Linked DNA regions of Homo sapiens: regions 2, 3 and 4 are each linked to region 1. The links are contacts of gene promoters, found by promoter capture Hi-C in blood cells and fetal thymus (Javierre and others, 2016). All regions are on one chromosome and are shown on one strand. The core of a region is centred on a gene start or on the middle of the fragment in contact, and the rest is flanking DNA. Distances in the headings are between cores, read along the strand shown. Region 1 holds the start of UBE2Q1-AS1 (UBE2Q1 antisense RNA 1). Region 2 holds the start of HCN3 (hyperpolarization activated cyclic nucleotide gated potassium channel 3). Region 3 has its middle 16 kb from the start of EFNA1. Region 4 has its middle 11 kb from the start of EFNA3.

Region 1 (3,018 bases), core at 310-2,809:
CCATTATCTTAGCAATAACAGTTGGTGGCCACTGGGGACCCAGGCCCCTTGGTGAGAACCAAGAATGCAATATCAGTCTAAAGAAGATCAAGTAAAGGAGGGGTTCTTAGGAGAATTAAACTAGGATTTAGGAGGTGGGTGACAGAGACAGCCATTTTGCTTTTCTTTTATTCTTTGGCAGTGATAGGCGAAAAATAATGGGCTGGTAGCAAAGCCATTCCCTGGGCTGTTGCTTCCACTCAGATCTGGCTGGTGGAGAGACTGGCAGCATTACAGGCAGGCGCACAACTTCCAGACCTGGGGGCTCAGGGGAGTAGGTTGGAGGCTGCATTCTAGCAAGCCACTGGGGCTCTGATCTCCATCTTTCCCTTCCTTGCTGCAGTGCACACAGGAAGACGTGTCTTCAGAAGATGAAGATGAGGAGATGCCTGAGGTAGGCTTGCCCCCTGAGGTGGCATTGGCTGGAAGCTCTTGCAGTCAGCAACATTGGTACCCATATCCAGAACTCCAGTCTAAAACTGGAGAGAGAAAAATATCAAAGGAATAAAGACAGATTTACTGACCTGGAGGAATAGCCAGTGTAGTAGAGGAGACAGGGCACCCATATCCAACCACTGAAGACAGGTGCAGCGCGGTTCAAACCAAATACTGGGTAAGTTAATTTCAAATGGCTTTGGAGTCCAACAAACCTGTGTTTGCATCCTAGCTATCCTAATTGAGGAATTTTATGTAATCTCACTAAGCTACAGTTTTCTTATCTATAAAGTAGGATTATAATACCTACTGCATATGGTTGTCTTGAGATTAAATGAGGTGTTATATATAAAATGCTTCAGATGATACATGATAAATGCTAAACAATCTATCTGATATATTCTCTAAAAACATACAGAATATAAAATCATGGTTAGGAATTTGAGCTTTAGAGCTAGACAGAACTTGACTGAATCTTAGCTCTGCTAAGAGCTGTGACTTTGGGCATGATAATTGACCTCACTAGACTCAGCTTCCGCATCTATAAAATGGATAATGATAGAATAATGAGTGATGGTGGTAAGAATGAAATGAGCTAGTATCTGCGGCACCTAGGACAGAACCTGGCATGTAATAAACACTCAGTAGACATTACCTGCTGGTGTGGTAATTAGGTATGTCCTGCCAGAAATGGGGAGATCACTCTGATTACTTTTATTTCCTAGCATTAGATTAATATCCCAGGTTCTATAACCGTGTAAGGTTCTTGAGACTGGCAAAGGGCTGACGACATGAAATTTACTCCTCCCAGATAGTGGACAGCCCTCTGGGCCACACCCCCAACATCTGGCTGAGGGGCTCAACCCTACATAGGTTCTCCTCCTTCCCTATGCTCAGTGAGCTAGTTGCTTGCTCACTTAGAGCAGGATGAATAAGGGGCTAATTCTGTTCTTGACCTCTTCCATATATCTCTCTGGACATCCTTTCTCATTTCCATCTGGCAGTGCGTGCCTCTGCATACCTGATTCATGCCTTGCATTTGTAGCGAGGAGAGGAGATGTAATGATTCAGGTTTCTCCTTTAGGCTTGGGGCCCTGAGAACTCCCGGGTGCAATAGTCACCTGGTGAAACATGAGCTTTGAGTCACAGGGTCAGGCCCAAGTCATTTCTGCTAGGAATTAGGGAAGAGTTTCTGCTGCCAAGGGAGTTTTAGGAACAGTTGGAGCAGGGTCAGTCCAGGAAACAAGAGGGCTAAGTCCCTGCCTCGATCTCAGCTGCAGCTCTGCTCGTTTCCGAAGTCCTTGCTGTAGCTTGAGAGCTGAAGATTTAGACTGTGGAGGGAATGGGGCTGGAAATTGTTCTAAAAATGGAAAGCACGTTGCGTTTATAAGACTGCTAGATGGACTGCTTCACTTTAACTTTTGGCTCTTCGCCAAATGGGACTGGGAAGGTGATGGTCATTCTCTAACCTGTGTCGGTTTTTTTCCTTTTCTTTTCACTCCCACCCCACACCTCCTCCAGGACACAGAAGACTTAGATCACTATGAAATGAAAGAGGAAGAGCCAGCTGAGGGCAAGAAATCTGAAGATGATGGCATTGGAAAAGAAAACTTGGCCATCCTAGAGAAAATTAAAAAGAACCAGAGGCAAGATTACTTAAATGTACGTGCCTTCTAGAGAGAGGCTGGTGAAGGGGTTGGTGGGAAATGGCTGGGAAGTAGTAGGCCATCGCATCTCAGTATGGAGAGCAGACTCCTTTTTTGTGCCTAATCCTTTCTTAAATCCTGGGCAAGCTGCCAGACTGCCCCTAAGGTCTAACGTGTGTTTATAAACCACACGACCAAGGAATGTTCCTGTCATCCGTCCCTCACAGGGTGCAGTGTCTGGCTCGGTGCAGGCCACTGACCGGCTGATGAAGGAGCTCAGGGATATATACCGATCACAGAGTTTCAAAGGCGGTGAGTTTGCCCCAGAGAGGGGCCTGCACAAGAGTCACCCATAAAGAAGGGTATGGTGGCAAGGGGCCCAAGAGGTTCTGGGGTCCAGGAGTGCTTATGAACTTTTCAGGCCAAGAATGGAGCTCCTCAAGCCAGTGGCTTGGTTGCATGTCCATCTGTGGTGAACCTAGAGCTGTTGATCTTTTTCTCTCAGTCTGGGAAAGGGGTCTGCATTAGAGACCACTCACCACCTGGACCATTCTACTAACACCTGTTTTTTCCCTCCTTCCAGGAAACTATGCAGTCGAACTCGTGAATGACAGTCTGTATGATTGGAATGTCAAACTCCTCAAGTGAGTGGGGACTCTGGGATTGGAGAGGAAGTTGAGGAGGAGTGTGAGTGGGGCTACTGTGGTGGGATCTCCAGGGCAGCCCCATCCAGCATTTTCATTCAGGGTCCCGGAGCGGGTGTGGGCAGTGGTTTCGTGGTCTGCTGCCAGCCAGGGCAGGGGAGCCCTTATGAAGCTCCTGAGGTGGAACCAGGCATCTGAGCCCAGGCTTGTTGCTTCTTAGAGTTGACCAGGACAGCGCTTTGCACAACGATCTC
Region 2 (3,018 bases), core at 267-2,766, 720 kb before region 1:
GAAAGCATCTTCACAGCCTGACTCACAGGTGGGTCACAAGCCTGGCGGGTGATGTAGTATAGAGAATGGAGAAGCACAATCAGAGGGATACCAGGCTTCTGGGGATCCGTCTGCGAGTGAACTGAGGGAAGAGAGTGAGATCCACAGGAGACTAGAAAAGGCGCACTGGCTGGGTGGGAACGAGGCAGCAAAGACAGGAGTGAAAGGAACAATGGGAGGAAGAGAGACATAGAGGGAGTGTGTATATATGTGGATTCAAGATAATGTCTGGGTCTACAACTGTATTTCGAGGCTCCAGATTCACACCTCTTCCTCTCTGCTTCTTTAGTTCCCCAGGTTAGGTGCTTTGCACACATCCCTGCCTCATCCAAGAGCTGTCCTTCATTTCCCCCAAGGACAGGGCTGCTGTCTTCCCCTAGCGACCTTGATGTAGAGGTACACCCTGACGGAGACTGTGAAATGGCCCCACCCCCACCCTCTGTTCCTTCTCTGGGAGTCACCTGGGTGGTGGTCCTGCCCCTGCTTTGCCGCCTCAGTCACTCTGAGTCTCGGCCCCGCCCCGCCGCCCCCGCCTTCAGCACTAGGGACAGCGACCAGAGCTGAGGTCTGGACCCCCCGCCCCCTTCAGCGTCCCTATTTTTCCTGGTAGTCTGTCATGCTGAACTAGGCAGGTGCTAAGGAGCGGGTGTGGGGATGGGAGATGGCGGAGCTCGGCTTCTCCCTCAGACTGGCCCCGATACTTAGAATATAATTTCCTAGATCTCCAGCAAGCAGGACTGGAGGAGGCAGGGGTCCCAAACTCTGGTAGTTCCTTTGGTCCGGATGGGGTCCCGGGTTCCTGAAAGAGGAAATCCAGGTCTCTGGAGATCCCCTGATGTCTGCTTGCCCCTTCTGGTGCCCCCAGCCTGTCCAGGCACGGAGGACCTCCGGCAGGGGATACCCGCCCAGGAATTCCCAGGCTAGACTGGTGCAAGTGACTCTCCCGCCCCACCAAGGGACCCCGGGCTGGAAATGAAGTGACCGTGGAGGGTGGGGCGGGCCGGGTCCCGGTGTCGCTGCCCGCGAGGGTGGGATTGATGTACCCTGCCCTCCCCGCCAAGCCCCCAATACCGGAAGTCGCTGTAGGGGTGGATGATCCAGGCCCCCGCTGACTTCACCCGCTCCTGCTCGATTTCCACTGCTTTGTGGCTGCCGAACACCCGAAGGGAGAACTTGTTGACCGTAGGCTGGAGCAGCGTCCCAAGGTGCCTCCTCTTAGGCTCAGGCCCAGATTTGGGGATCGGACCTGAGGCCGCGGTCGCAGGCGGGGGAGCAACGGGAGGCACCGCCTCCAGTCCAGGGGTCGCCCCTTCGCTGGCCCCCGCCGCCGGCCGCTGCTCTGCCTCCATGGCGCCCACCCCGCTTACACGCTCGGCCTCCTAGAGCCCTCTGTGGCCATCAGGTACCCGCAACCCCTCCAGAGCAGGAGTCGGCGCAGCCCCGCGGGCTCTAGCGGAGGCGTCGTAGGCTCGGAATCGCCGGCGCGCGGGGCGGAGGGGGTGTGTGCTAGACTGGCGGGCGGCGGGCGGGCTGCGCGGCGCCCCCTGGCGAGGGCCGCGCCAAGACCGGGCGGGGCTGGGACGCCGGGATCCTGGAGGAACTCCGAGAGGGGCGTGGCTTAGCAAAGAAGGCGGGGAGCGCAGCCTGAGCCAGGGAGAGGGCGTGGCCTAGCGTTGGCCTTTCATCCACTGAGAACCAGGGAGGAGGAGCCCCCTGCAGTGGCGGGAAAATCGGACGCGGGTTTGTAGCTTGAAGGACTTGGGAGGGAGAGGGATTGGGGACCAATGGAAGAAGTGGAAATGGCTTTTGGGATTCTTCTCCACTCTCGCCCAGGGACTTCTGTCCTGCTCCCGTCTTCTCTCAACACTGTCCTAGGCATATTCTTGTCTTTTGGTCTCCTCCGAACTGCTTCCCCTAGTATTTAATTTCCTAATTCATTCTGTCAGCCTTCACCAAGTGCAACTCTGCCTGTCATTGAGTGGATGCTGAGGAAACAAAAATGAATACAAAAGTCCTAGTCTTAGCATCTCCATGTAGTAATGGAAAACAACACAAAACAAAACAAAAACAAAGGCCTAGCCATAAAGCCACTGCTCATCTGTGCCCAACGACAGACAGGTAAATTGCAGTGCTATGCGAAGTGCTACAAATTCCTAAATATCTCAAATTCTCCCCTTCATCTCCAATTCTTATTACCACTGCCTCATTTCAAGCCCTCAGCATTTTTTCACTTAAATTACTTCGGAAACCTCTAAAAGAGTCTTCAACCTCTTCCAGGCCAATTCTTCTTCCATTCCCTGCCAGTTACCTTCCTAAAATCCAACTATGGCTGTGTCACTTGCTTGAAGCCCATCAAGCTTTCCCATCTTCTACAGGGGTACATTTAAGCTGCTTAGCATGGTGTACCAGGCCCAAAAAATTTGGACCTAGTTTCAACAGTCTCTCTTCTGACAGTCCCTCTCTTGAAAGCCACAGCCCCAATCATGCTGAAAGACTTTGTGCTGCCTTGTCTCTATGCTTTTGCAAATATTTTCTCTGCCTGGTATTCTCCTCCAATTCACTTTCGAACAGTTGGTTCAGATCTTGCTTTCTCTAGGAAACCTAGGAACACATTTCCAACTCTCCTTTCCTCAGGTAGGGTCTATTCTAGAGCTTTTTTACAGCAGCCAGGGCACCACTGTTTTGAGCAACTCATGTCACAGGGCTACCATTATTATTATTATTTTAGAGATGAGGTCACACTATGTTGCCCAGGCTGGTTTTGAACTCAGAGCTCAAGTGATCTTCCTGCCTTGGCTTCCCAAAGTGCTAGGATTACAGGCATGAGCATGGTCTCATTATTTATTTACAGATTTTCTCTCCTGTTAGATTGTGAAACTCTGAGAAACAGGAACCTTGCACCTGGCATAATTCTGGACACATAGTGGACATTCAGTAAATGCTTGTTGAATGAATTAATAATCTAGGAAAATGTTCCAG
Region 3 (3,018 bases), core at 194-2,693, 560 kb before region 1:
CCCTGGGGCTGGACTGAGGATGGATCTGCACACTTGCTGCCATGCTATGCTGCAGCGGGATTTCTTTTTTTTTTCTTTTTTCTTTTTTTTTTGAGACAGAGTCTCCCTCTGTTGCCCAGGCTTGAGTGCAGTGGTGCCATCTCAGCTCACTGCAAGCTCCGCCTCCAAGATTCAGGCCATTCTCCTGCCTCAGCCGCCCGAGTAGCTGGGATTACAGGCGCCCCCCACCACGCCCGGCTAATTTTTTGTATTTTTAGTAGAGACGGGGTTTCACCATGTTAGCCAGGATGGTCTCGATCCCCTGACCTCGTGATCCACCCGCCTTGGCCTCCCAAAGTGCTGGGATTACAGGCATGAGCCACCCCGCCCGGCCTGCAGCGGGATTTCTAGTCCTCTGAGGATGAGGGCTTTGCCACAGAGCCATTTGGGAGCTTCCTCAGCCCCTCCCGCAGGCAGCCACGCTCCTGTGAGGTGTTCCTCCTGGCTGTGGCAATTTCCGACTCCAGTGTGCACACAGCCATCACACTCCCCATAGATGGCCTGCCATGGCCCCTCCTGGGACAGCAGCCCAGGCGAGTCCTTCTGCAGAAAGCTTGGGCCAAGCAAAGGACCACCTGCCTAGGGTGAGGGCAGTCAAGGATAAGGGGGCGGGAGCTGAGGACACAGCCGTCAATTTACCACACTAGGTGGGGCTGGGCCCCTTGCACAGGTTAGGGGCGAGTCCTGTCTCCAACTCTGGGCTGTACTTAGTCACTAAATGTGCAGAGCCAGGCCCCCCAGGCCCCACGGCCCTCATCAAATCCATTCATCTGGCTCCTCCCCACACCCTTCCACAGGTCAAGAACACACCCAAGATCTTCCTTCCCTCTGCCTCATCACCATTTTTCTCCTGACAAACCTTTAAAAAAAGAAAAGAAAAAAAAAGGCCAGGCGCGGTGGCTCATGCCTGTAATCCCAGCACTTTGGGAGGCTGAGGTGGGCGGGTCACCTGAACTCAGGAGTTTGAGACTAGCCTGGCCAAAATGGTGAAACCCCGTCTCTACTAAAAATACAGAAAATTAGCTGGGTGTGGTGGCGGGCGCCTGTAATCCCAGTTACTGGGAAGCTGAGGCACAAGAATTGCTCGAACCCCAGAGGCAGAGGTTGCAGTGAGCTGTGATTGCACCACTGCACTCCAGCCTGGGTGACAGAGAGGAAAAAAAAAAAAGAAGAGAAAAATACAACAAACAAACATCAACAGCGGAAGTTAACTGGAGACCCCCGTTTGTGAACCAGTGAAAGGGACAATGGATGAGGAGGCTGGTGTGGTATCCTGAGGGCATCCTGTGGATAAGGCACCAGGCCAGGGGCTGGGGCCCTGAGGTTTCACTCCTCCCAGGTCTAGAGGGGTCCATCCTACCCCTGCTGCCAGAAGAGGGGCCTTTCCTCTGCCCCACAGCACCTGGGTCTAGGAACTGTCTGATTCACCGCCAGGAAACCCTCTCCTTGAGATGTTTCTTCATAGGTCATCCCAGAGCCTGCTAAATGCTTTTGCCCTAGGCTGGCTGTGTGGCTGGTGGTCTGTGGAATGAGGAAAGTGTCTCCTCTCCACTGGCTACTGGGAGAGCATATAAAATAAACATGATTTAAAAAGCCAGTGCCCACAGAAGACACAGACGAAATATTAAAAAATAAAAAAATAAGAAAAATAAAATAAAAATAAACAACCCCCCAGAAACCCCAGGTTCCCAAGCTGGGTGGGATGTGGAGTAAGCCAGTTTGCGGTGACATTTATATAAGGGGCTTGGTTCCTCCCTCAGGCAAGTCAAGCAAGTTGTAAAATTTGAGGGCACATTTTAAAATTGTTTAAAATCCTCCAAATGTGTTTCCTGTCTGGCACGGTGGATGGCGCGTTGGTAATACATGTGCATGTGTGGCCTGGAGGACGTGTTAACGACCAGGTTTAGAGGCAGAGATGCAGAAGAGCCTGCAAGAACCAGGAGCGAGAAAAGGGGTCTGTTGTTGTCATGGTGTGTGTTCCCCGTGTTGGAATGTGTGTAAGGGGCCTCTGGTCCTGTGAGGGTGGTTTAGTCTGGGAAATTAGCATCTTTTTTAAAGCTACTCTATTATAAATCATTAGTTAAAGGCCTTCAGGGCTAATAATACAGGTATGTGGTTTTTACTTCTGAAGCAAGCAGGTGTGATAATATTTGACAACACATCATAATTAGAATAGAGCGACATGCAGTTTGGTAAATTAGATGGTGACGATTAGACCCCCGCACATCGTGGCCTCTACCTTTGCCTAAGCTTTTCCCTCTGCCTGGGACGCCTTTACCAGCTGTCAAATCCTACTCATCCTTCCCAGCCTGGCTCCGTACCATCTCCCCACAGAGCGAATTAATCACTCTCTCTTCTGGGCCCCTGTGACATTTTGTCTTTTACAATGTTTACTTTGTTCTTTCTCTTCTGAAATTTAGCCGAATATGTGTCCCTTCCCCATCACAAGTCCTTTGAGGACCAGAACTGTGTCTTGGCTGTTGTCTTCCCTGCAGTTCTGTGCCCAGTGTGGGATCTTGGTTAATGTTTATTGAATTAAACTTCTTCTTCTTTTTTTAAGGGAATTACTTTGCAGAAAATTTAAAAACCCATATTGACATGGACCCAACTTGGTAAAAGCCATTACACTTAAGGTTTTTTTTTTTTGAGACAGAGTCTTGCTCTGTCACCCAGGCTGGAGTGCAGTGGCACGATCTCGGCTCACTGCAATCTCTGCCTCCTGCGTTCAAGCAATTCTCCTGCCTCAGCCTCCTGAGTAGCTGGGACAACAGGTGCGCACCACCACACCTGGCTAATTTTTTATTTTTAGTAGAGATGGGGTTTCACAATGTTGGCCAGGCTGGTCTCGAACTACTGACCTCAGGTGATCCACCCGCCTCGGCCTCCCAAAGTGCTGTGATTACAGGCGTGAGCCACCGTGCCTGGCCTACACTTAAATATTTTAAAATATTTCATGCTCTGAACTTTGCATCATTTGGA
Region 4 (3,018 bases), core at 180-2,679, 540 kb before region 1:
TGTGTGCGATCTCTACCTGTGTTGGGGGCATTAACCTGTGACAGCCTCTGGGAATGCCAGCGTGTCAGGTGGGAGCCCTCTTTGTGCCTGTGCTGGAGGGGGCCAACATGAGACAACACAAGGGTGAAGAAGACCCTGCCCAGGGTGAGGCTGCTCTGCCCTCAGGCCATACCACTGTGCCTGGTGACATCTTACCACTGCCTTGGCCAGGACGCCCTGGGCTCTGCAGACCTTGGTGTCACAAAGTAGGGCCCTGTACCAGACAGGCTCAGGGTCATTGGTGTCTGGCCATCTAAGTGCAGACCTCTCTCCCCAGTCTTCCTTACATGCTCTGGGATTGAAAGCCTCGCTGGACGGGAAAATCCTCAGCAGGGCTCCGCAGCTTTTAAAACTGATTTCATTTATTTATTATTTATTTAGATATTTATTTTTGAGAGACAGAGTCTCGTTCTGTCGCCCAGGATGGAGTGCAGTGGCTCGATCTCGACCCACTGGAACCTCCGCCTACCAGGTTCAAGCGATTCTCCTGCCTCAGCCTCCTGAGTAGTTGGGATTACAGACATGCACCACATGCCTGGCTAATTTTTGTATTTTTAGTAGATACTGGGTTTCGCCATGTTGTCCAGGATGGTCTCAAACTCCTGACCTCAAATGATCTGCCTGCCTTGGCCTCTCAAGTGCTGGGATTACAAGTGTGAGCCACAGTGCCTGCCAATTTACTTATTTATTTATTTTAAAGACAGGGTCAGCCGGGCGCGGTGGCTCATGCCTGTAATCCCAGCACTTTGGGAGGCTGAGGTGGGCGGATCACCTGAGGTTGGGAGTTCGAGACCAGCTTGACCAACATGGAGAAACCCTGTCTCTACTAAAAATACAAAATTAGCCAGGTGTGGTGGCACATGCCTGTAATCCCAGCTACTCGGGAGGCTGAGGCAGGAGAATCACTTGAACTCAGGAGGTGGAGGTTGCGGTGAGATGAGATCACACCATTGCACTCCAGTCTGGGCAACAAGAGCAAAACTCCACCTCAAAAAAAAGAGTCAGGGTCTTGCTCTTGCTCTGTCGCCCAGGCTGGAGTACAGTGGTGTGATCATAGCACATTGCAGCCTTGCTCTCCTGGGCTCAAGCAATTCTCCCGTCTCAGCCTCCTGAGTAGCTAAAACTACAGGTGCATGCCACCACGCCTAGCTTTTTTTTTTTTTTTTTTTTTTTGTAGAAATAGGGTCTCACTATTTTGCCCTGGCTGGTCTTGAACTCCTGGGCTCAAGCGATCCTCTCACCTCAGTCTTCCCAGTAGCTGGGACTAAAGGTTTGTCACCACACCTGGATATTTTTTTTATTTTTTGTAGAGATGGAGTCTTCCTATGTTGCCCAGGCCGGTCTCAAACTCCTGGGCTCAAGTGATCCTCCTACCTCAGCCTCCCAAAATGCTGGGATTAGAGGCCTGAGCTACTGTGCCTGGCCATTTGTTTTGTTTTTGTTTTTGTTTTTTTAAAGATGGGGTCGGCTGGGCACACTGGCTCACGCCTGTAATCCCAGCACTTTGGGAGGCTGAGGCGGGCAGATCACCTGAGGTCGGGAGTTCAAGAACAGCCTGGCCAACATGGCAAAACCCCATCTCTACTGAAAATACAAAAATTAGACAGGCGTGGTGGCATGCACCTGTAATCCCAGCTACTCAGGAGGCTGAGGCAGGAGAATCACTTGAACCCAGGAGGCGGGGGTTGCAGTGAGCTGAGATGGTGCCACTGCACCCCAGCCTGGGCGACTGAGTGAGATTCTGTCTCAAAAAAAATAAAAATAAAAATAAAAGATGGGGTCTTGCTATATTACCTGGGCTGGCATTAAACTCCAGAGGTCAAGCGGTCCTCCCACCTCAGCCTCCTGTTAGACCCACTTTGAATGCCAGCCCTATCATTAGCCAGGCTGTGTGGCCCTAAGTCTTAGATCCTCATCTGTGTTATTGGAATAGTGAGGCTTACAAAGGCGCAGCACTCGGCACATAGGAGGTGCTCAGTGAATGGAAGCTGGCTTATTCTAGTTACTGCCCAAAGTGCTTGGCCCTTTCAGTCTTACTATTCCAGAATTTTTGAATCTGCAAGGCCCTCCCCCATCCCATCTGGCCAGCCCCTATCCTGCCTGGCCCGGGGAATTGAAGCAAGCCTGCAGCCCAGGCCCACTACTATGGGTCCTCGAGATTCTCCCCAACAGTACCCGACCCCGCTCTGTGTATCTCCTCCTGTCTGAAGCCTCTTTCCTCTGTCCCTAGGCAAGTGTGTGCTTTTTCTTGGCATTCCCACAGCTCCCAGGCATTTACCCACGAAAGAGCTGGTTATGTTGTCAGTTATGTATGTGTGTGTTACCAATTTCTGCTCATACATCAACACATACTAAAGTATGAGCTTATTTTGGGGTAGAGACTATATCTTGTGTCTCCAATACCCAGGATAGAGCCTGGCACTCGGCAGGTGCTCGATAAATGTGGATTGAATGCATGGACGATTGGATGGATAGGCCCACCTTTTCTGTCTTATCAGTCTGTAGGGAGTCTCAGACTGGTCTAGTGGCTGCCCCCAGTTCTTTCCCCACCTGCTCTCCCACCCCACACTCTTCCCTGTTCCGCTATTGGGAAACCCACCCACTCTGCAGAGTCTAGCTCAGATTCCATTTTCCATGTTTTATGGGTAGAGAGGAGCAGAAAACACAGTCCTTACCACCAAGGGCTCATTCTCACAAAGCAGCCGGCAAGAGCCACAGGGGCACACAGGATCTGGCCTGCTCACACAGTGCCAATTAGAGAGCCTGGGTGGGATGGAGTCCCATGGGTGCACAGCTTGGCAATAAGGTGTCCCCTCCCTGGGCCAGGCACTTGGCTCAGCAAGTGAAGTTGCAGGTACATTTCAGCCCCTATCCGCACTCCCTTATGCTGTGCTGGTCTGTAAACCCTGACCTTCTCTGGGGCCCCTGGGAAGCGGCCATTATCCTGTCTTTTGCCCTTCTGTCCTCTCTGCCCTCCCG

What was found. Contacts are between HindIII fragments. The CHiCAGO score rates a contact against its expected background, and 5 or more counts as called.
Region 2: a contact is called between the fragment with the promoter of HCN3 here and the fragment with the promoter of UBE2Q1-AS1 in region 1, in 4 of 17 cell types (naive CD8 T cells, neutrophils, total CD4 T cells and 1 more). The highest score is 7.3, in naive CD8 T cells.
Region 3: a fragment that was not itself captured here is called in contact with the fragment with the promoter of UBE2Q1-AS1 in region 1 in 1 of 17 cell types (endothelial precursors); the score reaches 5.7 in endothelial precursors.
Region 4: a contact is called between a fragment that was not itself captured here and the fragment with the promoter of UBE2Q1-AS1 in region 1, in 1 of 17 cell types (neutrophils). The highest score is 6.0, in neutrophils.

What each region holds. Positions count from the first base shown.
Region 1 is chr1:154,552,150-154,555,167 of GRCh38, reverse strand. UBE2Q1-AS1 (UBE2Q1 antisense RNA 1) reads right to left here and starts at 1,559. Exons shown (of 2, transcript NR_046668.1): 1 at 1,496-1,559; 2 at 140-518. It overlaps UBE2Q1 (ubiquitin conjugating enzyme E2 Q1), which reads left to right. Exons shown (of 13, transcript NM_017582.7): 4 at 383-433; 5 at 1,996-2,136; 6 at 2,348-2,432; 7 at 2,704-2,764; 8 at 2,985-3,018. The HindIII fragment of the contact is 6,880 bases long and covers 1-3,018 here.
Region 2 is chr1:155,275,961-155,278,978 of GRCh38, reverse strand. HCN3 (hyperpolarization activated cyclic nucleotide gated potassium channel 3) reads right to left here and starts at 1,516. Exons shown (of 8, transcript NM_020897.3): 1 at 1,111-1,516. The coding sequence starts at 1,388. The HindIII fragment of the contact is 9,883 bases long and covers 1-2,398 here.
Region 3 is chr1:155,109,888-155,112,905 of GRCh38, reverse strand. No RefSeq gene overlaps it. Among named protein-coding and RNA genes, the nearest start is that of EFNA1, 16 kb to the left of the region's middle. The HindIII fragment of the contact is 1,697 bases long and covers 595-2,291 here.
Region 4 is chr1:155,088,362-155,091,379 of GRCh38, reverse strand. No RefSeq gene overlaps it. Among named protein-coding and RNA genes, the nearest start is that of EFNA3, 11 kb to the right of the region's middle. The HindIII fragment of the contact is 7,010 bases long and covers 1-3,018 here.